Regions from separate parts of the Homo sapiens genome. Here regions 1, 2, 3, 4 and 5 are each linked to region 6. Evidence: promoter capture Hi-C in 16 types of primary human blood cells and fetal thymus (Javierre and others, 2016). All regions are on one chromosome and are shown on one strand. Each heading gives the region's core, a stretch centred on a gene start or on the middle of the fragment in contact. The rest is flanking DNA. Distances are from core to core; before and after follow the strand shown. Region 1 overlaps TRIM37 (tripartite motif containing 37). Region 2 holds the start of MIR301A (microRNA 301a). Region 3 overlaps TRIM37 (tripartite motif containing 37). Region 4 overlaps SKA2 (spindle and kinetochore associated complex subunit 2). Region 5 holds the start of GDPD1 (glycerophosphodiester phosphodiesterase domain containing 1). Region 6 holds the start of SEPTIN4-AS1 (SEPTIN4 antisense RNA 1).

Evidence for each region. The method cuts DNA at HindIII sites, captures the fragments that hold promoters and counts their contacts. A CHiCAGO score of 5 or more calls a contact.
Region 1: a contact is called between a fragment that was not itself captured here and the fragment with the promoter of SEPTIN4-AS1 in region 6, in 6 of 17 cell types (naive CD4 T cells, M0 macrophages, total CD8 T cells and 3 more). The highest score is 5.8, in naive CD4 T cells.
Region 2: a contact is called between a fragment that was not itself captured here and the fragment with the promoter of SEPTIN4-AS1 in region 6, in 8 of 17 cell types (naive CD4 T cells, fetal thymus, non-activated CD4 T cells and 5 more). The highest score is 9.3, in naive CD4 T cells.
Region 3: a contact is called between a fragment that was not itself captured here and the fragment with the promoter of SEPTIN4-AS1 in region 6, in 2 of 17 cell types (activated CD4 T cells and naive B cells). The highest score is 6.1, in activated CD4 T cells.
Region 4: a contact is called between a fragment that was not itself captured here and the fragment with the promoter of SEPTIN4-AS1 in region 6, in 3 of 17 cell types (naive CD8 T cells, naive CD4 T cells and activated CD4 T cells). The highest score is 6.8, in naive CD8 T cells.
Region 5: a contact is called between a fragment that was not itself captured here and the fragment with the promoter of SEPTIN4-AS1 in region 6, in 3 of 17 cell types (naive CD4 T cells, megakaryocytes and fetal thymus). The highest score is 7.3, in naive CD4 T cells.

What each region holds. Positions count from the first base shown.
Region 1 is chr17:59,042,164-59,046,998 of GRCh38, forward strand. The region is part of intron 16 of TRIM37 (tripartite motif containing 37); the gene reads right to left. Among named protein-coding and RNA genes, the nearest start is that of TRIM37, 62 kb to the right of the region's middle. The HindIII fragment of the contact is 861 bases long and covers 823-1,683 here.
Region 2 is chr17:59,149,845-59,154,124 of GRCh38, forward strand. The region is part of intron 1 of SKA2 (spindle and kinetochore associated complex subunit 2); the gene reads right to left. It overlaps MIR301A (microRNA 301a), which reads right to left and starts at 1,377; the gene lies at 1,292-1,377. RefSeq lists a silencer at 256-335. The HindIII fragment of the contact is 970 bases long and covers 1,420-2,389 here.
Region 3 is chr17:59,092,504-59,097,352 of GRCh38, forward strand. All of the region lies in intron 2 of TRIM37 (tripartite motif containing 37), which reads right to left. Among named protein-coding and RNA genes, the nearest start is that of TRIM37, 12 kb to the right of the region's middle. The HindIII fragment of the contact is 931 bases long and covers 991-1,921 here.
Region 4 is chr17:59,109,952-59,114,594 of GRCh38, forward strand. SKA2 (spindle and kinetochore associated complex subunit 2) reads right to left here. Exons shown (of 4, transcript NM_182620.4): 4 at 1-2,394. The coding sequence ends at 2,326. LOC124904039 (a long non-coding RNA gene) reads left to right here. Exons shown (of 2, transcript XR_007065864.1): 2 at 4,003-4,643. Among named protein-coding and RNA genes, the nearest start is that of TRIM37, 5.4 kb to the left of the region's middle. The HindIII fragment of the contact is 1,611 bases long and covers 2,493-4,103 here.
Region 5 is chr17:59,218,245-59,222,624 of GRCh38, forward strand. GDPD1 (glycerophosphodiester phosphodiesterase domain containing 1) reads left to right here and starts at 2,267. Exons shown (of 10, transcript NM_182569.4): 1 at 2,267-2,507. The coding sequence starts at 2,366. RefSeq lists an enhancer at 2,293-2,843. The HindIII fragment of the contact is 164 bases long and covers 1,905-2,068 here.
Region 6 is chr17:58,517,071-58,521,439 of GRCh38, forward strand. SEPTIN4-AS1 (SEPTIN4 antisense RNA 1) reads left to right here and starts at 2,767. Exons shown (of 5, transcript NR_110810.1): 1 at 2,767-2,907. It overlaps SEPTIN4 (septin 4), which reads right to left. Exons shown (of 14, transcript NM_001368771.2): 11 at 4,184-4,280; 12 at 3,928-4,090; 13 at 3,673-3,772; 14 at 3,186-3,415. The coding sequence ends at 3,356. It also overlaps a transcript of MTMR4 not described here. RefSeq lists enhancers at 1,326-2,071, 1,419-1,518. The HindIII fragment of the contact is 4,387 bases long and covers 1-3,694 here.

The DNA of each region.
Region 1 (4,835 bases), core at 3-2,502, 520 kb after region 6:
CAGGAGATCGAGACCATCCTGGCTAACACGGTGAAACCCTGTCTCTACTAAAAATACAAAAAATTAGCTGGGTGTGGTGGCAGGCACCTGTAGTCCCAGCTACTCAGGAGGCTGAATCAGGAGAATGGCGTGAACCCAGGAGGCAAGCTTGCAGTGAGCCAAGATTGCACAACTGCACTCCAGCCTGGGCGACAGAGCGAGACTCCATCTCAAAAAAAAAAAAAAAATCAGCCAGTTCTTCTTAGAAAGCTAAGAAAAAAAGGAATTTAAAAAAAAAAAAAAAAAAATATATATATATATATATATATATATCTCAAGGCCGGGCGCAGTGACTCACGCCTGAAATCCCAGAACTTTGGGAGGCTAAGGTGGGAGGATCACCTGAGGTCAGGATTTCGAGACCAGCCTGGCCAACATGGCAAAACCCTGTCTCTCCTAAAAATACAAAAATTAGCTGGGCGTTGTGGTGGGGACCTGTAATCCCAGCTCCTCGGGAGGCTGAGGCAGCAGAATCGGTTGAACCCGGGAGGTGGAGGTTGTAGTGAGCCAAGATTGCACTACTGCACTTCAGCCTGGACGACAGAGCGAGACTCTGTCTCAAGGAGGACAGGACAGGACAGGAAAGGAAAGGAAAGGAAGATTAAAAAAAAAGAACTGTGTCAGGCAAAAAAATAGAAATAAATGAAACACTAAAAAATCTAAGAACCACTATTAGAAGAGATTAATCTCTCCTATTTAATTAGTGTTAGAAACACTAATAAATACAAGAACCACTGTTAGAAGAAATTACAGCTTCAGAGAACTGGTAGCTTAATGGCAATAAGCTTAAAACACTACATGTAGTGTTAGGCTTAAAACACTACATTTTAACATCCAAAAAAAGCCCAAATTACTGTATATGACTAAATACCATTTTTCAAAAATAATATTTCAGCAAAGAGGGTATTACTTCCTACTCGGCCATACAAAGTCTCTCATGTTAAAAAACAATCACTATTACTTTATTTTAAACAACATACTACTTGAAACAGTACCAGTCAATGACAGTCTTGGGTATTTAAGGAAATCTCAAGATAAGCACCCAGCTTGACAATGTAAGGAGCTCTGTAGGTCTGCTCTTTAGTCAAACTGGTGACAATTATTTTAAAAACAACCACTTAACGACTCTGGAAATGGTCCCAAGGGCATACAGCAAATGAAGAAACATCTACTCAAAAAAATCTATAAAAACTGGGTAAGACAAGTGGGCATCTGCAGTATTTGAACCAAGATCACTCCACTTCCTAACTTGGTGTTACAGAAATTCCACTCCAGACTGGTGCAGTGAAGAACACAGGCCTCCCACTTCCCGAACTTCCAAGAGGAGGGCTATATTCCTGGGAGTGGCAAGGTATCAGCATCTCTCATTCTGCCCCCAGCTACCTATTGCTGATGCTATAGTACAGGCACACACGGCCAAGAGGTGGAGACTCCCTTCTGCTGAGACCCACTTGTGGACTAGATGCTCTACCTGGATGCAGCATGATGAGAATACTGGGGCCCAGATCATCCCTGCCCCAGCTTATTCATAAGGTGGAGGTCCCAAGCCTGAAAAGGAAAGAACTAAGGCTACTGTCCCCAACATCCAGTTAGCTCAGCTTCTAAAGTAAGAGAGGTACACCTTTATCCTTACTCCAACTTCAAAGCTTTGGCTCAGAGATTTTGCCTATGGGGAGAAGCAGAGACACATACAACACTCAGAGAAACATACAACACTATTAAGAGCATCAACGAAATATAGTTGGCCTTCTTTATCTGTGGGCTCTGCATCTGTGCATTCAACCAACTGTGGATCAAAAATATTTTTTAAGCCCTGGTGTGGTGGTTCATGCCTGTAATCCCAGCACTTTGGGAAGCCGAGGCTGGAGGGACTTCTTGAGCCTAGGAGCTCCGGGCCAGCCTAGAACATAGTAAGGCAACATAGTGAGACCCTGTCTCTACAAAATATTAAAAAATTAGCCAGGTGTGTTGGCATGCACCTGTAGTCCTAGCTACTTGGAAAACTGAGGTGGGAGGATCACTTGAGCCCAGGAGGTCGAGGTTGCAGTGAGCTGTGATCACGCGACCACTGCACTCCAGCTTGGGTGACAGGGCAAGACCCCGTCTCAAAAAATAAAGCCGGCCGGGTGCTGTGGCTCACCTGAGGCCAGGAGTTCAAAACCAGCCTGGTCAACATTGCAAAACCCTGTCTCTACTAAAACTACAAAAAATTAGTCGGGCGTAGTGGCAGGCGTGTATAATCCCAGCTACTCAGGAGGCTGAGGCAGGGGAACTGCTTGAACCCAGGAGACGGAGGCTGCAGTGAGCTGAGATTGTGCCACTGCACTCCAGCCTGGGCGACAAGAGCGAAACTCCGTCTCAAAAAAAAATAAATAAAACAAAACAAAATAAAGTCATGCGCAGACATTTTCCCCTTGTCATTATTCTGTATACAATAGAGTATAACAACTACTTACATAGCATTTGCATTGTATTAGGTATTATAAGTAATCTAGAGATGATTTAAAAGTATAGGGGAGGATGTGCATAGGTTATATGCAACTACTCTGCCATTTTATATAAGATACTTGAGCATCCTCAGATTTTAGTATCCAAGGGCGGGGTCCTAGAACCAATACCGCAAGGATACTGAGGGACAACTGTACTAGCAAACAGAATGCAGTAACATATAAAAAGAATCATGAGCCGAGTGTGATGATGCACACCAGTAGTCCTAGCTACTATGGAGGCTGAGGCAGGTGGATCACTTGAGGCCAGAGTTGAAGGTTACAGGGAGCTATAATCATGCCACCATACTCCAGCCTGGCCACAAAGCCAGATTCTCTTAGGAAAAAAAAAAAATTGCTGGGTGCCGTGGCTCATGCCTGTAATCCCAGCACTTTGGGAGGCCGAGGCAGGCAGATCACAAGGTCAGGAGATTGAGATCATCCTGGCTAACACGGTGAAACCCCATCTCTATTAAAAATACAAAACAAAATTAGCCGGGCAAGGTGGTGGGCACCTGTAGTCCCAGCTACTTGGGAGACTGAGGCAGGAGAATGGTGTGAATCCAGAAGGCGGAGCTTGCAGTGAGCGGATATTGCGCCACTGCACTCCAGCCTGGGGGACAGAGCGAGACTCCGTTTCAAATAAAAAAAAAAGAAAAAAAAAATTACGGCTGGGCGAAGTGGATCACACCTGTAATTCCAGCACTTTGGGAGGCCAAGACGGGTGGATCACGAGGTCAGGTGTTTGAGACCAGCCTGGCCAACGCAGTGAAACCTCGTCTCTACTAAAAATACAAAAAATTAGCTGGGTGTGGTGGTGGGTGCCTGTAATCCCAGCTACTTGGGAGGCTGAGGCAGGAGAATCGCCTGAACCCGGGAGGCGGAGGTTGCAGTGAGCCGAGATCATGCCACTGCACTTAAGCCCGGGTGACAGTGCGAAACTCCGTCACAAAAAAAAAAAAAAGAAAAAAGAAAAAAAATTACACACTATGACCAAGTGGGATGTGTCCCAGGAATGCAAGCTTGGTTTAAAAATCCAAAAATCGCCAGGCACAGTGGCTCACACCTGTAATCCTAGCACTTTGGGAGGCTGAAGTGGGCAGATCACCTGAAGTCAGGAGTTCAAGACCAGCCTGGCCAACATGGTGAAACCCCGTCTCCACTAAAAATACAAAAAAATAGCCAGGCGTGGTGGTGCACGCCTGTAATCCTTGCTACTCGGGAGGCTGAGGTGGAAGGATCACTTGAACCCAGGAGATGGAGGTTGCAGTGAGCCAAGATCGTGACACTGCATGCCAGCCTGGGTGACAGAGCAAGACTCCATCTCAAAAAAAAAAAATTATCCACATTAATGAAATTCATTAGTTCATCAATTAACAGGGCAGAAGGAAAAGCTCTTCCTTAAATTGCAACTAATGAATGAGTAAGAAATAATGGAATTAGAAAAACACCACTTGGCAATCAACACAGTAACCTTTTTCAGGCAACACTCATCAAAGGGTGTCAAAATTCATAGGAAAAAGTAGGATGAAAAATAGGATATTTACAGTCCCATACATAAGATACTTATTAATTATAAAGGAAAAAGTACAAATTTTGGAGTGAAGAAACCTGGCGGATGCTACCTCAACTAAGTGATCAAAATTAACCACAAGTAATGGGACATACTGACATCATGCTCCACTCTGTATGACGCAGTGAAAAGGATACATTATCATTTCCGTAGTATCCCTGCCAAAAGTGTGTAACCTCTATCTAATCATGAGGAAACTTCAGACTAATCCAAACTGAGGGACTTTCTACAAAATAAACTATTCTGTATTTCTCAGAAAGTATTAGTCATGAAAAACAGTTTTTTTTTTTTTTTGAGACAGAGTCTCAACTGTCGCCCAGGCTGGAGTGCCGTGGCGTGATCTTAGCTCACTGCAAGCTCCGCCTCCCGGGTTCACCCCATTCTCCTGCCTCAGCCTACCAAGTAGCTGGGACTACAGGCGCCTGCCACCACACCTGGCTAATTTCTTTTTTGTATTTTTAGTAGAGACGGGGTTTCACCGTGTTAGCCAGGATGGTCTGGATCTCCTGACCTCGTGATCCACCCGCCTCAGCCTCCCAGAGTGCTGGGATTACAGGCGTGAGCCACCGTGCCCAGCCGAAAAACAAATTTTTAAAAAAGTAACCCAGATTGGCCAGGTGCGGTGGCTCACGCCTGTAATCCCAACACTTTGGGAGGCCGAGGTGGACGGATCATGAGGTCAGGAGATCAAGACCAACCTGGCTAACACGGTGAAACCCCGTCTCTACTAAAAATAC
Region 2 (4,280 bases), core at 655-3,154, 630 kb after region 6:
AGATCAGTGGTTGCCAGGGACTTGGGGAAGAAGAGGTTGACCACAAAGAGGCACAAAGGAATGTAGGGGTCTCACTCTGTTGCTCAGCCTGGTCTGGAACTACTGGGCTCGAGTGATCTTCCCACCTCAGCCACCCGAGTAGCTAGGTCTACAGGTGCACCACCATGCCTGGCCACAAAGGAGCTTTTTGTAAAGTAACAGAAATGTTCTATATCCTGGCTGTGGTGGTGGTTACATGACTGTATACATTTGTCAAAACTCGTCAGTTCACTGGGCATGCCACACCCCTGTAGTCCAAGCTACTCAGGAGGCTGAAGTGGGAGGATTGCTTGAAGCCAGGAGTTCTAGGCTGTGCTGCATTATGATTGCCTCTGTGAATAGTCGCTGCCCTCCAGCTGGGCAACACAGCAAGACTTCGGCTTTGCTTAACAAATAGCTTACTTACTTTTATTTTATATAATTGTATCTCAATAAAATTCATATTTTTTAAAAGTGATGAATCCACACTATTGTATCTCATAAGAATAAACTGTAAAACAAACACTCTTAGGTTTTAAATTCAACCATTTCCTAGACAATACACAAAATTAACACCAATTAAGATTTGGAGGACTAGGCACAGTGGCTCACACCTATAATCCCAGCACTCTGGGAGGCCAAGGCAAGAGGACTGTTTGAGCCCAGGAGTTCAAGACCAACCTCGGCAACACAGTGAGACCCTGTCTCCACAAAAAATTTCAAGAAAATATTAGCCAGGCATGGTAGGACACGCCTGTGGTCCCAGCTACTTAGGAGGCTGAGGAGGGAGGATTATCTAAGCCCGGGAGTACAAGGCTGCAGTGAGGTGTAACTGGGCCACTGCACTCCAGCCTGGGCAACAGAGAAAGACTCTGTCTCTGGAGAAAAAAAAATGACTTGGGGCAAGTAACTGCAGGAAAAATATACAGCAGAAATTGTTTCCATCACTACCAATTCATCATAAAACTCAAATAAAACCTAAAGTTTGACAGAACCTATCCAAATATGTAACAGAAAGCAACAAATTATAAAGTATTACTCATTTAGACAAACCATAACAACTTAGATATAAAAAATATTCTCCAGACGTGTTTCATAATGCAGTAAAATATTGTTTTTAATTAGTTAAAAGGTTTTTTTTTTTCAAATTATGACTTTCTAAAAGATATACTGTTAGTAACAACATTATAGTTCTCAGCAACAAAGGTTGTGGTAAATTATTTACTGATACCGAAGAAAGATGTAAGGTAAGAATCAAAATTCTGGCGTGCATCCTGCTTTCAGATGCTTTGACAATACTATTGCACTGCTAGCTGTAAAGTACAGTAGTGCAATAAAGTCAGAGCATTCGTTAGCAGTAATAAGTAGGAAAGGAACACAAAAGCATCTTGCATCGGTTGAAGCTTCAGTGAGAAACGAATTTAAAGTAGGGTTGCCATTTTGGACAGAAAAACATCCAAAACCAAAAAACATTTATATCAATGTTTTTTTAAAAAAGGATAAGACTTAAATATCAAAGTGATGTTGCTTATTGATGACTAATATACAAATTAACATTCGAACAGAAACATGCATAGATGTAGAAAGGAATTTTGTAAATATGCCCTAAGCCTTAATAGTAATTAGAATGGGTATTGTTAATACTTTAGGATTGGTATTAACAAAACCAGTTATAATTACTACTAAGGCAAAGTTGTGAAAAATATTTTTGTTCTCTGCAGAGATGTTGGTTAGCTCCTTCTTCAAGGCAATTTACTGATTAAACGCCATGTAAAACAAGCCCTTTGAATAAAAGTATCAAAGAAAACAAATGAAAAGTAAAATAATAAGTTTCTCAATCTCTACATACTCAATCTATCACTCTGGAATCTAAACCACTAAACAAAGAAAACACAAAAGCACTTACCATCTTACAGCTTTTTATCTTGAGTTTACTAAGGGCTGTCATAACAACAGAAGGGAATCAATGTGCTCTAAACAGAACATTAACCCTATCTAACTGAATACTATCCAAGGGGATTTTAAAATTTCAGTTAACTCCTGAAATCTTAAATAGAGGCAGAAAGCATCTCCATTTCCTTCAAACTTAGAAATGTCAAAGAGAAAATAATGATGGGGGGAGGTGGGACTGAGATTTAAGTAACAAGTTTCCTTAGTTCCAAGCTAATTGACATTTTAACTTTTTTAACGGATAAGAACCCAATCAGAAGTCAGATGTAAACCCAGAAACAGAAATAGTATCATAGTATCACACTGCATTACCTTTTGTGTACAGTCACTAGTAGTACCACGAAAGAACAAAGCTAAACAAATACCACCCCATCATTAAGTGAAGGGGAAAAAGTCAGAGAACAAAGATTGCCCTACAATAAGCTTATTCCCCCATTAGTAATGTTGATTGATGCAAAAATATATTTTCATTATTTTCACCAACCTCCCTTTAAACGGTCCAATTCAACTACTTAGTCGGATTGAGCCTACTAAGGAAATGGGCTCATACAAAGGACAGCTGAAATATAAGTGTCTTGGTGTCAAATCCTGGGCCACATAACTAAAATATTAGAATATTTAACGCTGGTAGCCAAGTTTCAGGTTTTAAAGACAACTGTTTAAAAGATAAGTGTTTAACTTTCTGAATTGGAAGTTATTACAAACAAGAAAAATATTTAAAAAATTTAAGGTATTAACAAAATTAGGATAAACACTTTCTTTTCAAATTAAATATTATGCATTTCCTTTTACCTTGACAAATCCTTTATTTAACTGATGTAAAACCAAAAATCAGAAGATAGCACAGGAATCATTTACTCTTAAAATCTTATAAAATAAACTGGTCCACAAGTATAACATTTTTTTCTAGAAGCACATGGTAAATCTGAAGATGAGATGCACTGTCTTTTATTATCTAGTCAACACAAAGCAGTAATAATTAGAGCCATGATAAAAATTCATTTCTAAACCCTAATAATTATGGAAACAAACTAATAACCTGAAAGGAAAAAAAAAAAAGCTACCACTAATTTACTTGCAAGGATGTAAGAAAGGAAAAAAACCTCATTTCTTTTTTTCCTGTCTTCAAAAAGAATTTAAATACTACCCCATCATTCAAACAATACCTAAAAGTTTAAATGTCTGGCTACCTTATAATTTTCTAAAACCTACTTTTTCAAAATGTTTACTTCATCATTGTTCACTTAAAAGAGAATTTGTTCAATCTAAAGAAGTCCTGTGAGAATACTGACTCTACTGTAAAAGCCAGACGAAGTTTAAAAATTAGAAACAGCCAATTTGAGAAGCAAACAACCTGTTAAAAGCAGAATTAGCATCATTTAGCAGAAATGAATTATGAATTTAAGCAGAAATATCTATATCAGTAGGGAGGAATTCAGAATGGGAGAAGGGCAAGATAGTCTTAACATTTAAGCCTGTTGACAGAATCAAATTACAATGCTTAACATTTTGTTTTTTTTAAATGATAATAAAACTTAAAACTAAAAGTTCATTATTACAGGTTTGAAAATCTGCAGGAAATTCTTCCTTCTTCCCTCCCATTTCTCCCTACACTTCTCCAACCCCACACACACTGCACAAAGAAAATTTAAACACAAAATGCTAAAAGTAATTGAAAGCCTTCAAATTAAATTTGTATATGAGAGGCACTCCAATTCATTAGCACAACAGAAGAAAATAAGATATATCAAGGCCTCACTTTTTCTGGGGTGGGAATGGGGGGTGGGTGAGGTTTCTTCCAGGATCACCACCCATCCTTTCCAAGGAAGAAGTTAGAGACCCAAGATTCAGCTTGAAGAAAGCAGGGCAGGCACAAAGGATACCTAAGCAGTAATGCCAGGGAATGGCGTGGGAAGGAGGGACGGATTACAAACGAAGAAAGAAGTCTTTTACTTTTTTAAAACTTAATCTTTTTTTTTTTTGAGACGTTGTCTCTGTCGCAAGGCCGGAGTACAGTGACGCGATCTCGGCTCACTGCAACCTCCGTCTCCCAGGTTGAAGCGATCCTCCTGCCTCAGCCTCCCGAGTAGCTGGGACTACAGGCGCGTGCCATCACACCCGGCTAATTTTTTTATTTTTAGTATAGACGGAGTTTCACCATGTTGGCCAGGGTAGTCTCAATGTCTTGACCTCTTGATCCGCCCGCCTCGGCCTCCCAAAGTGCCGGGATTACAGGCGTGAGCCACCGCGCCCGGCCAATCGTATTTAACAGACAAGCAAACAAACAAAAAAAGACAGGAGCTCAGTGGCAG
Region 3 (4,849 bases), core at 206-2,705, 570 kb after region 6:
TCTACTAAACCAAAAATTATATTAATAATTTATTAGGAAACTGAGAGCAATGTTATACCACATATAAAGGAGATGTTAAGATTTTCTGACTAGTTTTCAGGAAACAACAGGTTTATAATAAAAAAAACTTTATGTTTTAATTGTCTGATAAATAGGTTCAGAGGTAAATAACTATGATCCTACACCAACGTACTCCCAATATCTGTTATTTGTTTATCTCTTTCTACTTTTTAAAATGAACATGAGCTTTAACTTGATGCCAAATAATTAACTTAGAAATAAAATTCCCAAGGAAACCTTAAAGGACAGTAAAAGACTTAAAATGATAGCAAGCAAGGTACTTCAGAGCAAAGAAAATAAAGCTGAAAGAAAAAGCATACAGAGCACGCCTGTAATCCCAGCACTTTGGGAGGCTGAGGCGGGTGGATCACGAGGTCAGGAGTTCGAGACCAGCCTGGCCAACATAGTGAAATCCCGTCTCTACTAAAAATACAAATTGAGCCAGGTGTGGTGGCATGAGCATGTAGTCCCAGCTACTCAGGAGGCTGAGGCAGGAGAACTGCTTGAACCCAGGAGGTGGAGGCTGCAGGGAGCCGAGACAGCGCCACGGCACTACAGCCTGTGTAACAGAGCATGATTCTGTCTCAAAAAATAAAATAAAAATAAAATAAAAAGCCTATGGAAAAGGATTCCTCCATTCTTAATAACCTTGAACATTATTATTACCTTGGTCCCTAGGCAAAAACGAAATTTGGGTCAGGTTTCTTCCCCTGAAACAATGGCATGACCATGCCACTCTTCTGTTAAAGTCACAGCTCCTCTCCAGAACTGGTCTCATGAACTCCTCTCCAGAACTGGCCCTATAACCCAGCAAGGTAATGTCTTTACATGTTTCCTCTCTCTGCCTAAGATATTCTTCAAAACCTTTCTTCATCTGGGTTACTCCTACTCATTGTTTAGATTTCAGTTCATAAGTTGCTTTCTCCAAAAAGCTTTCCCTGACACTCTGCAGACTATTTTAGATACAATTGCCATGCTCTACCACAGCAACCTACACTTCCCCCTTCAGATACTTTATTACGACGACTTATTTGTTGGTCTCCTTTGCCCTGCTAGACTATAAAACTTATAAAGACTGGGACTATGATAGGGAGTAACCAGATCGTATTTTAAATGTCTCCCTCCCTCCCAGTCAAAACAGGCTTACTGCTGCACTATATAACACTGTCGATATATCTGTGCATTTGCTTATATGGTCCCTCCCTCCATATCCCGTCTCATAGAAATGTCACTGGATCATGTCCATAAAATTTCCTGCCTTTCCCAGGCTATAGTGAGTTTTACATTCTCTGAATATTTGTGGTATTTTTATCTTGTATTCCACAATCTAATTTATTTATTTATTTTTTGAGACAGAGTCTCACTCCCTCCCCCAGGCTTGAGTGCAGTGGTGCAATCTCAACTCACTGCAACCTCTGCCTCCCGGGTTCAAGCAATTCTCATGCCTCAGCCTCTCAAGCAGCTGGGATTACAGGCATGCGACGCCACACCCAGATGGTTTTCGTATTTTTATTAGAGATGGGGTTTTCCCACGTTGGCCAGGCTAGTCTCCAACTCTGACCTCAAGTGATCTGCCCGCCTGGGCCTCCCAAAGTGCTGGGATTACAGGCATACAGGCATGAAATTGCTCAGCCTCCACAATCTAATTTAATTACAAAATAAATATGACAATGTTAATACTTTGAGAAAAGCAATGTTTCTCTCAAACCAAAACCAAAGAACCAGTGGTACAATATTAATGCATAATATTAAACAAATATCTTTAGAGCATTCCCCCTCATTCAATTAAAAAATCATAAACATAAAATAAAATTAAAATTAAAAATTATTTTCTCTCCTTCATTAAACTGGAAGAATCACAAGCTTTAGAAAGTATTCAGATCTGTGTCTGATTCCCAGCTCTGGCACTTATGGACCACATGACATTGGACAAGTGACTGAGCTCGTCTCCTCATATGCAACAAGAGAATCAACATATCTACCCTGCAAAACCGCTCTAAGGGTTAGAGAGAAGCTGTTAGCAATATATACTAAGTATCTAAGATAATCTTAAAAAAAAAACAAACTGGCTGCTAACATTTATAGTTCAATTACTACTGGATGTGAGGAAAAAGGAAGATTAAGGTGAGCTAGGTTTTTGGATAAAAAACTGGGTTCCTGACTGGAAAAGAAACAGATTTGGCATGGTGAAAAACAAAAACAAAAACAAAAACAAAACAAAAAAAAACCTCTTATAGAGACGATATATTTCAGATGCATACTACAAGTCCAAATGAAGGTAGTTAGATACTGGAGGCAGAGAAAAGGCCAGGACTGAAAAGATAAAGTTGGGAAGTTTAAGTCTAGAGGTAGTGTTAAAAGTCATGGACCAGTCGGGTGTGGTGGCTCACACCTTTAATCCCAGCACTTTGGCAGGCCAAGGTGGGAGGATTGCTTAAGGCCAGGAGCTCCAGATCAGCCTGGGTCACATAGCAAGATACCATCTCTACAATAAATTTAAAAATTAGCCGGGCATGGTGGACACGCCTGTAGTCCCAGCTACTCCTCAGGAGGCTGAGGTGGGAGGATCAACTGAGTCCAGAGGTCAGGGCTGCAGTGAGCCATGATCATGCCACTGTCTCTAGCCTGGATGACAGAGCAAGACTCGGTCTCTTAAAAAAAAAAAATCCATAGACCATGAAGTTACTAGGAAGATGGTATAGCTATTATGGCAAAGATACCAAAGATAACGTTTCAAGAAAAACAGATGAAGTAATTTATGCTGAATGCTCCGAGAAGGAAAGATAAGGCCAACAAAAGGTTCATTGGATTTAGCAAAACTGAGTCTACACTTTGCAGGAGCTATGTGAGTAGTGTGGAGGGAGCTAAAGCCAAGTTAGAATGGGTTGAAGGGTAAGTAGATGGCAAGGTTGCAGGGAAATGGAGTGGAAAACACTCTTTTAAATACTTTTAGCTATAAGAGAAAACAGGCAGTAAATAGGAAATTTGTTAACAAAGGACTTTTATTCCCAAACAGCTCAAAATTGCAAGGAAACTAGGAGGCCGATCATAGAGGATCTTAGATGCCTTGTGAAAGCATACAAAATTTCTTACATCCCCTAATGTACTGTTTGAGGCAAACTATATATACATACAAAAACATGCTAAATACTTTCTGGGGTTGTTTTTGTTTTTGAGACAAGTCTCACTCTGTCACTCAGGCAGGAGAGCAGTGGCCCAAACACAGCTCACTGCAGCCTCAACCTCTTCATCTCAAGAGGTCCTCCCACCTGACCCTCTGAAGTAGCTGAGGCTACAGGTGTGCCCACCACATCCAGCTAATTTTTTAATTTTTTTTGCAGAGATGGGATCTTGCCATGTTGCTCAGCCTGGTCTTGAAGTCCTGGGCTCAAACAATCCTCCATCTTTGGGCCTCCCAACGTGCTGGGACTACAGGCATGAGCCACTGTGCCCAGACTAAAATAGTTTCTTACAAACATCTATACCACTAAACTATAACAAAAGTCCACTTCTTATGGTATGTCTACCAAAGAAAGGGAAAAGCTGTCCTTTTGTTCATTTCCAAAAACCTGTAAGAATGAGTAATTATCATAAAGATTGTATATATTAATTATCTAGCATACAGAACTAAATAAGCCAGATGGTAAATAAAATTACTGTTAGTGTAACAGGAGACCAAAAAAAGAGAGTTTAAAAAAAAAACATCAGCCGGGCACAGTGGCTCACGCCTGTAATCTCAATACTTTGGGAGGCCGAGGTGGGTGGATCACCTGGAGTCAGGAGTTCGAGACCAGCCTGGCCAACATGGTGAAACCCCGCCTCTACTAAAAATATAAAAATTAGCCAGGCATGGTGGTGGGTGCCTGTAATCCCAGCTACTCGGGAGGCTGAGGCAGGAGAATCGCTTGAACCCAGGAGGCAGAGGTTGCAATGAGCCAAGATCGTGCCACTGCACTACAGCCTGGGTGACAGTGAGACTCTGTCTCAAAAAAAAAAAAACAAAAAAAAAAAAACCAACTTTGTAACAGAAAACAAGGTCTTTAAGAAACATTAATTACAGCAATTATTAAAAATCTTAGATCATGGGCTCATGATTGATTAAATACTATTTCCAATGCCTAATCCTGCATTTGAAATTAATTAAAAATATAAGTATTTATTAAATTCCTTCCATTTCTTCAGAATATAATCAGAGATATCATTATTGACATGTACTGTGCATCCTCATTCATAATGCTATATGAAAAATTTTAATGTATATGTGGTCTGGGAGTTTAAGATATTTACTAGAGAAATTGTGCTAGGGAAATCCTCAACAAAATCCCAATAAAACTAATTCAACAGACTATTTAAAAAATTATACACTGTGGCCAAGTGGGATTTATTCCTAGAATAGAAAGATGATTCAACTACAAAAATCATTCAATGTAATAAACCACTTCATGGAAAACCCCCACTATGATCATCTCAATTGATGCAGAAAAGGCATCTGACAAAATCCAATATCCTTTCATGATAAAAATACTCAATAGAAATAGAAGGGAACTTCCTCAACTTGATAAAGGCCATATATAAAAACTCATAAAAATCATAGTCAACGATTCAAAGGCTAAAAACTCTTCCCCTTAAGATCAGGAAAAATTCCCCTTAAGATCAGGAAAAAGACAAGGATGCCAGCTTTTACCATTTCTATTTGACATAATACAGGTACTAAAAATTCCAGCCAGAGTACTTAGGCAAGATAAAGAAATAAAAAGTATCCTAATTAAAAAAGAAGTGAAATTATCTT
Region 4 (4,643 bases), core at 2,048-4,547, 590 kb after region 6:
TTTAGAAAGAGGATTGTAGGTTTTATTGACTAAGAAGATAAAGGGATGCAAATTAGTTATACAGGTTTTAATTCCAGACAACAGAATAGTGGCTATTAACAATAAAATCAGTAAGTATTCTGGACATGTTTAACTTGAATATTCAGGTAGGGGATTTTATTGGAAATACGGATCTAGAGCTAGTGGAAGAAGTTATATTTAGGAGTCATCCACAAAGAGGCTTGAGAAACAAATGAAAATGTATTGAGAAGTGCATAGAGAACAATGTTAAGGGGGCTGTGGGGAAAAAACAACATTTGGAAGATAACTGAAGGAAATCATAGAGGAAAAATAGTACAATCTAATTTTTCTCCCTAACTGAAAGCAAAACCACTTTTAATACTAAGAATTTATTATGATCTCTCCATGATACTACCGTTTTTTCAATCCCAACAATCATCATCACATCCCAGAGCCATCTCATGACAAGAGCTTTCTAAATACTAATTGCCTGAACACTGAAGAAAATTAATATCTGATACTAAGGTGTAACTTATTTCTCTGTAATTAAAAAAAAGGGGGCCAGGCACGGTAGCTCATGCCTGTAATCCCAGCACTTTGGGAGGCCGAGGTGGGTGGATCACCATCAGGAGTTAAAGACCAGCCTGGTCAAGATGGTGAAGCCCCATCTCTACTAAAAATACAAAAAAATAGCCGGGCGTGGTGGCGGGCGCCTGTAATCCCAGCTACTCGGGAGGGTGGGGCAGAGAACTGCTTGAACCTGGGAGGTGGAGGTTGCAGTGAGCTGAGAGCGTACCACTGCATTCCAGCCTGGGCAACAGAGTGAGACTCCGTCTCAAAAAAAAAAAAAAAAAAAAAAAGGCTTTCTGTTCTTGAAATATTCAAACTAGACAGGACAATTTTAACTGAAGCTGTTCTCACAACCCTGTTTTTCAGCTATTATAAGTTTGTTAATGGACAAACATGTTCATAACTGAAATTTTAAAATTACATAAAAGTATAATTCTATAACCTGCAGAACTAACATTTGATGCATTTTTCCTAGTCCTTTCAATGCTTAGTTTTTATTACATGTATGTAATATCACTTATTGAAGGCTTACTAAATACTGAACCCTGTATTAAAACACTTTCCTGTCTTGTCCTTCCAAACATCCTGACACTCAAAAGTTAAGTGATCTGCACAGGGTCATAGCTAGAATTTAAAAGCTGCTACTTACATCTCAGATATGACTCCAAAGCCCAATCTTCACTACAAAACTGCAATACCTGCTTTCCCTCTCCCCCACTTAGCATAGTTTCAGCATTTCCCAGAACATTAACAGTAATAATTTATTGGCAACTTGACCTCTTATTGTATACATACAGCATGATTTATTTTCCTATTCACCTAGTACTAGCCAAATGTGTATGTATATTGCTATTATAAACAACCCTGTGATTAACATCTTTCTATCAAGATCTGCCTCTACTTTGAACAGTTTCCTTATTGCCAATAGTTATTTTAAAATAAATAGTTATTTTAAAGGGAAATTGACACATACATATAACACACTCACGCAAAACTGGCAAGTAGCAGATAAGTGCTCTTCTAATTTCAGTTTCCTAGCTTTCATGTAGAATGAACAATTATAGTAATAAAGGCTGAAGGAAAACAAAGATATTATTGAGATACAACAGGGACAGTCTAAAACAGCATCAGAAAGCAAGTTCATGCTGTTCAACATTAGCAGGCAAGGGAAATAGGGAAAGAAATACGCAAACGTGGCTATCACAGAAAAGCCAGCTTATTACTTTAGGTTCTGTGGGAGACTACAGGTCACATAAAAGCAGTCTCAACAATAATGTGACCACATGTGCAATCAACATTTACAAAATGAAATTATATATCATGTATAACACAAATGTTTTGCCTATACTTTAATTTACAAAGCCACATACCGAATGACTGAAATGTACATAAACATTCTTTTATGATAGACCAGAACATCTATATTATCATGACTTAGAAAAAGAAAACAGATGCAAAATAGTGTTGAGAATTTCTGGCCTGAAATTACAAGACTAAGTGTGTGTGTGCATGCGTGTGTACATATATTTAAATCGTTTTATTCTCATTTGATCCTTTTGGCTGAACTTTATTCATATATTATCTGCCCTTCTTCTTATAATCTCTCTCATGAAAGATATCATTATCCAGTCATTGAAGCCAAACCCCCTTCACCAGCCCCCAATCTCTAGACATCAAGGGTTAACAAGACATCTTCCTAAATTTCTCCGGAATTAAGCTCTTCTCTGTTAGAATTTCCTTTCCAAGTCCATTTCTTCATAAATCTGGCATGTGAAATTTGAATTGCTCTGCCGCAGTTTTCTCTTCTTTAGTCAGTGGTGACAGCTAGAAAATAAATGATAAAATCTTTATTTCAAAAACTTTCAAAGACTTAAATCAGTTTAGTTAACTTCTGCATTGTCACACCAATAAATGTTTCCCTAAGCTTATACTATGTATGTAATCACAGATTTAGAAAGGCAAGGGAAAAAACAGATACTTGGCTATTTATATACAAGGTCCTATGATGTTTGAGCTTCTAAAGAACTTGCAATTAAGTTGAAGAAACAAGACCAAGAAATCAAACAATTTAAGGATTATAGCAGAACCAAAGAAGTCATGTTTGGATGCCATATTCTAAAAGTACAGTCAACCCTCAGTATCTGTGGGAGATTGATTCCAGGATAACAAAATCCACAGATGCTCAAGTCCCTTATATAAAACTGCGTAGTATTTGCATAGAAACTATACATATCCTCCTGTATACTTTAAATCATCTCTAGATTACTTATATACCTAATACAATGTAAATGCTATGTACATAATTGTTACACTGTATTGTGGAAGGAATAAATGATAAGGAAAAAAGTCTACAGATGTTCAGTACAGATACAACCATCTAATTTTTTTCCAAAATTTTTGTTTTCTATTTTTGAAACGGGGTCACTCTGTCGCCCAGGCTGGAGTGCAGTGGCACAATCATGGCTCCCTGCAGCCTCAACCTCCCATCTCAAGCAATCCTCCCACCTCAGCCTCCCGAGTAGCTAATTTTTAACTAATTAGTACACTAATTTTTAGCTGGGCATGGTGGCGCACACCTGTGGTCCCAGCTGCTCGGGAGGCTGTGGTGGGAGGATCACTTGAGCCTGGGAGGTCGAGACTGCAGTCAGCCCTGATGGTGCTACTGCACTCTAGCCTGGGCAGCAGAGCAAGACCTCATCTTAAGAAAAGAAAAAAGAGGCCGGACGCGGTGGCTCATGCCTTCTAATCCCAGCGCTTCGGGAGGCTGAGGCGGGTGGATCACTTGAGGTCAGGAGTTTGAGACCAGCCTGACCAACATGGTGAAACCCCATCTCTACTAAAAAACACAAAAATTAGCCAGGCATGGTGGTATGCACCTGTAATCCCAGCTACTCAGGAGGCTGAGTTGGGAGAATCCCTCGAACCTGGGAGGCGGAGGCTGCAGTGACCCAAGATCGCACCACTGAACTCCATCCAGCCTGGGTGACAGAGCAAGACTAAATCACACAAAAAAAGAAAGAGGCCGGGCACAGTGGCTCATGCCTGTAATCCCAGCACTTTAGGAGGCTGAGGTGGGTGGATCACCTGAGGTCAGGAGTTTGAGACCAGCCTGACCAACATGGTGGAACCTCATCTCTACTAAAAATACAAAAAAATTAGCTGGGCATGGTGGCAGGCACCTGTAATCCTAGCTACTCGGGAGGTTGAGGCAGGAGAATTGCTTGAACCCGGGAGGTGGAGGTTACAGTGAGCCAAGATTACGCCATTGCACTCCAGCCTGGGCGACAAGAGTGAAACTCTGTCTCAAAAAAAAAAAAAAGATAAAGGAAAATGTATTATCATTCCACAATAACTTCAGAAAAAGGAAAGACTTCTGGGCTGACTTATTTAGCAACTGAACAATGTAAGGACTCCATTTTTTCCATCTCACAGCTCTAATATCCTGGATAGTGCCTTTACCCTCAAGCTGACAGCAAATGGCTTTAACGGTGCTAGGTATCACAACTCTACACAATGTCCAGAAGAAGAAAAGAAGCTTTCTCTTCTCAGGGTTCTCTCAGCAGTGAGTAAAGTCTTCCTAGTAACCTACTTCCAGACTATCCTTACTCACATGTCATTTGGGTTACAAACCCATTCCTCAACCACTGTTAGTTAAAAAATAAAGTCCATTCCCTATGCCAATCAGATGCACCCCTGGAGCTGAGGATGGGGCCAGATTCATCTCAGGCACATCGCTATGAGGGACAACACACATCTCAAGAAAGTCAGTATAGTCATGTGTCACTTAATGACAGGAATACGTTCTGAGAAATGCATCGTTAGGCAGTTTCATCGTGTGAACATCACAGACTGTACTTACACAAACAGGGATTGTATATATACACTCAGGCTATATGGTATAGCCTACTGCTCCTGGGCTACAAATCTGTACAGCATGTTACTGTACTGAATACCGTAGGCAGTGGTAACACATGGTATTTTTATATCTAAACATCTGAACATAAGAGTACAGTAAAAATACGCTATTATAATCTTCTGGGACCACTGTCATATATATTTGGTCCATTGTTGAC
Region 5 (4,380 bases), core at 737-3,236, 700 kb after region 6:
TAAAATTTACGGGTGGGAAGGGGTAGGGGGTACTTCCAGAAGAACAAATGACTTCTTAGAAGCTGGGGAGAAAGCACTTTTTGGAAAAAGAAATGATTTTTTGGAAACATAAATGTGTCCTTAGGAGAATACCCATGAGATGTCATACTTTTGTGACAATGTCTCTCATCTCTGACAGGATTAGAATTGTTCCCAGGGAGGAGATTTATGACAGTTAAGTTCTTCTGGGAGCCTTTGATTTTAGGTTGATAAGGGATTCCAGGAACTTAAATGCCTTCAGCTCAATATATATATATTTTTTAAGAGACAGAGTCTTGCTCTGTCGCCCAGGCTGGGGTGCCGTGGCATGATCTTGGCTCACTGCAAGCTCCGCCTCCCAGGTTCAAGCCATTCTCCTGCCTCAGCCTCCCTAGTAGCTGGGACTACAGGCATGCACCACTATGCCTGGCTTATTTTTGTATTTTTAGTAGATACGGGGTTTCACCATGATGGCCAGGCTAGTCTCGAACTCCCGACCTCAGGTGATCTGCCTGTCTCAGCCTCCCAAAGTGCTGGGATTACAGGCGTGAGCCACCATGCCCAGCCTCAAAATAATTTTTATGCCACAGTGGTTTATTCTAGACGCTTCCATAGTCATCAGGTGATATTTTGAAAAATAGAACTATGTGCGTCAGTTGATCTACAGGAAATAGTTTAACAGCCCTAAACAGAACACATGATTTTTTAACCTGTAAGTTTCCTCAGAATGTTGCTCTGTTGCCCAGGCTGGAGTGCAGTGGCACCATCAAGGCTCACTTCAACCTCGACTAAAGGAATTTTTTTTTTTTTTTTTTTTTTTTTTTTTTTTTTTTTTTTTGAGACGGAGTCTCGCTCTGTCACCCAGGCTGGAGTGCAGTGGCGCCTTCTCGGCTCATTGCAACCTCTGCCTCCCGGGTCCAAGAGATTCTCCTGCCTCGGCCTCCTGAGTAGCTGGGATCACAGGCACACGCCACCACCCCTGGCAAATTTTTGTATTTTTAGTAGAGATGGAATTTCGCCATGTTGGCCAGGCTCCTGACTTCAAATGATCTGCCCGCCTCAGCCTCCCAAAGTGCTGGGATTACAGGCTTGAGCCACCGTGCCCAGCCACCCCCTATTTTCTTCTAATTTTCTTTTTATAGTTGAGATAGGGTCTTGCTCTGTCGCCCAGGCTGGGGTGCAGTGGTGCAGTCATAGCTCACTGCAGCCTCGATTTTCCAGGCTCAAGCAATACTCCCACTTCAGCCTCCCAAGTAGCGTGACTACAGGTGCACGCCACCACGCCGGGCTTATTTTGTTTTATTTTTTGTAGAGATGGGGTTTCGCCATGTTGCCCAGGCTGGTCTCGAACTCCCGGGCTCAAGCGATCCACCCTTCCTTCCCGGCCTCCCTAAGTGCTGGGATTACAGGCGTGGGCCACCGCGCCCGGCTGAATCAGGATTTTAAATATTCACTCTGCTTTTCTAGTCCTGTGGGAGATATGGTCTTCTCCGTAAAATTTCTCCCTCAGTCCTGGGTGATTTATTTCTTTTGCATTGAAGTGTGTGGCTTTTCGTGTGTTAGCAGTTTGTAATTTGTCGGGTAAAAGGAAAACTAGTAGGGCCTTCTGGAACTTAGTTATCTGTCTTTCTAGGACTTTTAGGTAATACCTTATAACCTTAACAAAGTTTCCTTATTTTATACGGACTTGTAAGTCAACAAATACTTCTACAGTGCCTATTGTGTACAAAGAATGAGGATTGCACTTTCACAATGAAATGAGGGAGGACAGGGGCCGATCTCTCAGATATTTGACTGATAAACCAGTACCTTTTCTAGTATATGCGACCATAGGGGAAATTCTCTCTAGGCTAGATAAACGGAGGAGTTTATTTAGTGTTTTAGCAAGCTTTATCGCCTCCATAGGTACAAATTATTTGCATTTTCTAGAGCAAGGGATAAGACGCGCCCTGGAATCTTTCCTTTTTGATGTGGATTTTCCAATTAGGAAAGGCTGCCCGTGAATAGTCTTTTCTGCTTGAGTGATGGCCAACACACTGGCAGGTTTGCAAGCTTTCTCTTCATGAGGGTCCGTCCACAGAGCTAGGTGACAAACGCTCAGTCCAGGATCTCTGCAGGTTCCTACACGGGAGCCGGAGAGCGCCTGCGCGTCGGAGCCTCTTTGTTGCTGGGGCGCTGGGGTCCAGCTGCGCGTGCGCAGTAGGCCGGCACCGACAAGTGCGCTGCACCAGTGGCACCGGCTGGGGGCGAGCCGACCTCGAGCAGCCGCCGCCGCCGCCGTCGTTGCTACTGCCGCAGCGGAGTTCAGAGGGCCCGGAGGTGGGAGACTTCCCACACGGTGACTGAGATGTCGTCCACTGCGGCTTTTTACCTTCTCTCTACGCTAGGAGGATACTTGGTGACCTCATTCTTGTTGCTTAAATACCCGACCTTGCTGCACCAGAGAAAGAAGCAGCGATTCCTCAGTAAACACATCTCTCACCGCGGAGGTGAGAGGGGTCCCCAGAACCCGATGACGGAGGTGGGGGAGGCTGAGGGTCCTTTGCGGCTCCGCAAAAGGCAGCCGGGTGCCAATCCCTGAGAGTTTGAGGAAGAATGGGGTTGTGTGAATTGAGGGCTCTTCCGGAGGTGAAGGCTGTGTGAAGGGAAGGTCTCCTGAGGGGAGGGAAGGAGAGGGATTCCCGGTCAGAGCCACGGCGGGGGTCTCTCGAGGGCAGCAGTGTGAGGGGTTCTCTGAAACGGGAAAGACACGGTCGAGAATGAAGGGTAGGTGGAGCGTTTCTCGGCGGATGGAAGGATGATCGCAAGGTCCCTTCCTAGCAGCAAGACACAAAGGGGGAGCGCCGTGCAGAACCGAGGGTACCCCGCGGGGGGCACCGGGAGCACACTGCTCCGAGCGAGCTAGTGGCTGAGTGGATGGGAAGAGCCGAGGCGACGAGGAGGGCTGGGGATTTGCATGAAGCTGGACGAGCTGTAACCCCTTGTCTGCGGTGCTGGGGGCCCGTCCCACCCCCACGTTCCGAGCACTCATAATTGAGAAGAGAGGGAAACCGAGTCCCCCGAGCCAGGGACATTTCCCAAGGTCACAATTAGAGCTAGGGCTGAACTGAGACAGGAGCTACAGCGTCCTGGTCCTCAGGGCTGGAAACCTTGCATCTTTTTTTTTTTTTTTTTGAACACTGCAATAAATAAATAAATAAATAAATAAATAAATAAACACGCAAAGACACGTGGATTTTCAACAGACTAAAAATGATTTCGTTTAGGACAGGACAGTATTGTTTAAAGAAAACAAAAATAAGTTTCTTTTGGAAAAGTGTTTTGCTAAAAGGAGCCCAGGTAGTCCACCCTCTAATTTCCCAGATAACAGGCCAAATCTTTGCTTCTTCATTATTGTGTAATAATGTGTCTTCATTGCATTTCAACTATGATGTATAAAGTGCGGTGAAATTGGATTATTTTCAATCAATTTTAACTGTTCTTTAAGGCTGAATCTTAAACCGGTTTAAAATTTGCTTGAAATTTAATACACACTTGAAATGATAATTTCTAGGAGTTTACAGTCTAAAACTTGGTGTAGTACCATAATCACTTTACTAACAAGTATTGGCCAAGGAAAAAGGTTTTGAAATATAAATACGGAAGTACATTATCATTCTTCTATATAATTTTATTAGTTAAGCATAGTTCTAATGAGTGACTTCAATAGTATTCTAGCCTTCCCACTCATGAAAAGCCTCAGAGGTTTTAAAGGGTGGTCAGCCAAATGCCTTGTTATTGTTTATTTGGGTTATCTGTTTTAATAGCTACCTGGTTAAACTGTAGGATGACATTTAACTACTAAGGTGCCTTCAACCATTGGAACCAGGGACCGACTTTTAGTATTCAAGTTGCTGTCACAGAAGCAATTTTCTTTTTTCTTTTTGTGTTTTTGTTTGTTTGTTTTTTTGTTTGTTTGTTTTGAGATGGAGTCTCGGTCTGTCACCCAGGCTGAAGTGCAGTGGCGCGATCTCGGCTCACTGCAAGCTCCTCCTCCCGGGTTCACGCCATTCTCCTGCCTCAGCCTCCCGAGTAGCTGGGACTACAGGCGCCCGCCACCACACCCAGTTAATTTTTTTTATTTTTAGTAGAGACGGGGTTTCACTGTCTGAGCCAGGATGGTCTCGATTTCCTGACCTCGTGATCCGCCCATCTCGGCCTCCCAAAGTGCTGGAATTACAGGCGTGAGCCACAGTGCCCAGCCTTTTTTTTTTTTTTTTTTTTTTTTTTGAGACAGAGTTTCCCTCTTGTCGCCCGGGCTACAGTGTAGTGGTGCCATCTTGGCTCACTGCAGCCTCTGCCTCCTGTGTTCAAGCGATTCTC
Region 6 (4,369 bases), core at 1,517-4,016:
GTAGTACCCACCTGACCTGTTTACTGGGGGCAGAGTCCAGAGTGGGACAAGAGGGAGGGGACCACAACCTGTGATCAGAGGGCAGCAGGGCTGCACAGGTCCTCCTGAGTGTATTTGACACCAAGTGGGGTGGAGGTTATGGAGAGGAGGCCACACAACAGGGACAGAATCAGGCCAATCCAGGCCTTGGAGTCAGCATCTGTCCAATGAGCCCAAGTAACAGGGATTTCAGGATAGGGCCTCCTAGGCTCACTTAGGGAGCCAGGCCTAGGTTTCACTGACACTTTCCTTCATGCCTGCTTTCCTCAGGCAGTGCAGCAGAGCCCTGCGGGAGGCTGCGGGGATAAAAGCCTCCATCTGTGGTACTGCCCACCTCCCTGTTCACAGTATCCTCTTCCCTAGGCCATTCTCCCTCATGGGGGAACCGGCAAGAGGCAAGCCAGAGGTGCTGCCTCACCGCCCACTGGCAGCAGCCCCAGGGAAGGAAGGGAGGGAAGGAGGGACAAGGATCAGGCCTGGGAGGCCCAGGGTTTTCAGACCTAGGGGATCTGGTCCCAGGGGGCGGGCCAGGTTGGCAGGGGAGCCCAGGTGCCCAGGTTCTAGGGGCGGAGCCTAAAGACTGGGAGGCGGAGCCCCAAATGACAGAAGGCGGGACTCAGGAAAGCCGGTGGGGGCCAGGGCGGAGCCGGGCAAGACGCGGTCGTTGCGGTTCCCAGGCTTGCAGTGCAGGGGGCACGGTGACTCACCCAGGCGGCGTCCGCCCGACCCTCTGAGGCCGCGCTCTTGCCACTTCCGTCTCCCGCAGCTGCTGAGGCCGCGCAGTCCCGACCCCACCACAGTGCCCCTCTCCTGAACCAATCATATCTCTAGCCTGTACCCGCCCTGGCCAATGGCCACGCCAAGTCCCGCCCTGCCCCCATCACGCAGCCACCGCCCTCACTCTCGACCCCACTCATTGGTCGAGTCGGGCAAACGCCCTCCCAGCCTTTAGCCAATCGGATGCCTAAAGACGAGACTATACCTGGAGGAAGGAGGCGCGGCGCCGGAGGGGAGACGCGACCAATGGGAAATCACAGCGCGTCCTTGCGGCAGCCAATAGGAGAGCAGTAAAGAGGGGGCTGCTGGCCACTGCTCTGGGGACCGGAAGTGGAGGCGGCTCGTCGCCTACTGGTAGCGCAATTAGAGGCGGGCATTGTAGGTTACATGCCTAAAGCCACTTCCGGTGATGGCCCCGCCCAGGAGGTACTTCTGAAACAGGTCCCCAGTGGCACCTCAGTTTATCCATTCCCGTTTTGGTTTCGCAGCTGTCATCCGGTCCCAACGCCAGAATAGGAGAAAAACCTGCAGGCTAAGAGAGAAGGGAGGGCTGGGCCTGAGGTTCAGTCTTGGTCATCTCCGACTGGCGGCGCTAGGATTTCCCCCTTCCTGTGTCTTGATGGGTTCCTCCAACACTCACTTTGTATCGATAAACGACCCTGCAGTTCTTCACGACCTGCATTGCGCTGGCAGTCCTGAGTGAAGAACTCTCCTCTCATCCCAGAGATGGGAAACCTGGATCTGAGACTGCCAGCTAGCTGCGGCCTCCTAGTCTGTAAAGCGAAGGGAGACCAGGACGCTCCCAAGGACCCGGCTTATCGCCCCTCCCTTTCCTTCCCGGGGACCCAGAACAGACCACAAGACGGAGGGTGGCCGCTGGAGGTCGCCGTGGCCCCGCGATACCACCAACCGACAGAAATGGAGAACAGTTGATTCAGATTCAGCTGATATTCTCAGGTCTGGAGCGGGCCTGAGCGCTTTAATTAGCCCGGGGCTAATGTCCTCACCCATCTTTGTTTATAGAACGTTGAAACTCCAGTACTGTTGGTAAGTTCCAGGAAGACAGGAACTTTGCACTACTTGAACTCCAGGGTCTAGAACAGCCTGCAATCTAGCAGATGCTGTAAATTTTTTAATTAAATACTGAACTCCTGTAGGACGGTGATTGTGTTTTTATTCATTCCCAGCACTTACTATAGTGTTTGGTGATTACAATGGCTGCAGCATTTGTTCAAAGCTCTATCACAGGCTTTCTACAGTGTAGAGCTTAACCTGCCTATCCCTTTTCCCAGATCAGGGGAAACAGAAAGTCAGGAGGTTGCACGCAGTTAATACCTTGTGTTTTCCCAAGGGCAGGTATCAAATACAAAACTGCGTCCGCCGCAGCTGGAATACGCACAGGCATCAAAATGGGGCCTTTTGGGCCGGGCGCGGTGGCTCATGCCTGTAATCCCAGCACCTTGGGGGGCCGAGGCGGGCGGATCTCAAGGTCAGGAGATCGAGGTCATCCTGGCTAACACGGTGAAACCCCGTCTCTACTAAAAATACAAAAAATTAGTCGGGCGTGGTGGCGGGCGCCTGTAGTCCCAGCTACGGAGTCTTGTAGTCCCAGCTACGGAGCTTGCAGTGAGCCGAGATAGCGCCGTTGCACTCCAGCCTGGGCGACAGAGCGAGACTCCGCCTCAAAAAAAAAAAGGGCAGGGGGGACTTTTGGACAGTCCTTTAATATTGGGGAAGTGCCCCAAATTTCTTTTTCTTTTTATTTTTCTTTTTTTTTTTTGAGACGGAGTCTCGCCCTGTCACCCAGGCTGGAGTGCAGTGGCGCCATCTCAGCTCACTTCAAGCTCCGCCTCCCGGGTTCAGCCATTCTCCTGCCTCAGCCTCCCGAGTAGCTGGGACTACAGGCGCCCGCCACCACGCCCGGCTATTTTGTATTTTTAGTAGAGACAGGGTTTCACTTTCTCCTTAGCCAGGAGAAGTGCCCCAAATTTCTAATCCCTTAAGCCAGGACCTTGGTAGCCCTGAGGTGTGATGGGAGACTCTGGACAGAACCACCTGTTGACCTATCCAGGACCCAAATATGCACCACAGGTAGGAATCTTTTTATTACCAAAGGTACTGTATGTGTGAAAGATGGAGAGAGACCCAGACCCCAGATAACAGAGGCATGATAGATATGATCGTCAAGATGGAGAAGCCAGGCTGGATTCTAAGCAGGGACTTAGAAGGGGAAAGGAAGTGGAAAGTTTTCCCCACTCTCCCTTCCCTACTAAAAGCCAGAAACCAACATCTTCTACCATTAGCCTTTCAAAACTGGGTCCCAGGATCTTGATCTCCAGGTCATAAAAATACACACAGGGACACCAGAAGCCACCTACAGATTTATTAAACTTTATTTCCTCTGAGTCTCTGGGCAGTCAGCAGGGATGTAAGGCGAAGTGGCAGTAGCTGAAGGGGCCTGAGCAGAGCTGGTGCTGGGAGGGGCCGGCATGGACAGGAAGAAGAGGAGGAGATTTAAATATCCAGGGCTGAAAGCCAGTTAATAGTTCTCCTTCATCTGTTTTTGTATTTTGTGTAGCATCTCCTGCATCCGCCGCAGCTGGAATAGGCACAGGCATCAAAATGGGGACTTTTGGAGAGTCCTTTAGTATTGGGAAAGTGCCCCAAATTTCTAATCCCTTAAGCCAGAACCTTGGTAGCCGTGAGGTGTGATGGAGACTCTGGACAGAACCACCTATTGACCTATCCAGGACCCAAATATGCACCAGAGCCAGGGATCTTTCTATTACCAAACAAAGAGATACCAACGTTGGTGATCAAACAGGAGACCTCCCCTATACCCCATACTGCTCTCACCTCCTCATCTTTCTCTCGGATAAGCTTCTCAGTTTCTGGATCTGTCCCTGGTGGGACAGCAGGGATGGGGAAGTCGGTACCACTTTCCCGAGTCAGTTTGCTAAAGGGAGAAAAGGGTTGATAAGGCGAGGAGGACCCCAGCACCCGCTTAGATTGAGCCCAGGGCCTATAGAAGAACAAAAGTAGGGCTTGGTCTCACCCAAGGCTAGGCTTGGGATCTCCCCCTGCCAGCTTTGTCCTGGCTTCTGGTCATACTTGCGATTCCGTTCCTTCACCACCAGGCGGGTCATGCTCTGGATGCACTGTGCCCGGTAGTTCTCATAATGTGTCTCCCGTGTCACATCCTTCAGGTCCTGCATGTGGGTACGTACCAGCATTGTCCTCAGCTTCACAAAGTCGCAGTGCCCTGGGTTTTCCACTGCATAGCAAGGCTAGGGGTCAGCCAGAGGCATAGGTAGGGGAGAGCCACTGAGGGCAAGGAGATACCCTGGTCACAGGCTCAGTGCTTTACCTTCCACGATGCCCCAGGGGTAGAGTCGACCCCGAACTCGCCGCCCTCTGGCCTCTACTACAGTGTTGCTGCCAATTACTGCAAATGGGATGCTTTCCTGGAAGAGGTTAGGGGTGCCTGTCAGCACCCTCTGTTCTCACCTCTTTCTTTCCACCTGTATCGTCATCTTCTCTGCTTCATTCTAGG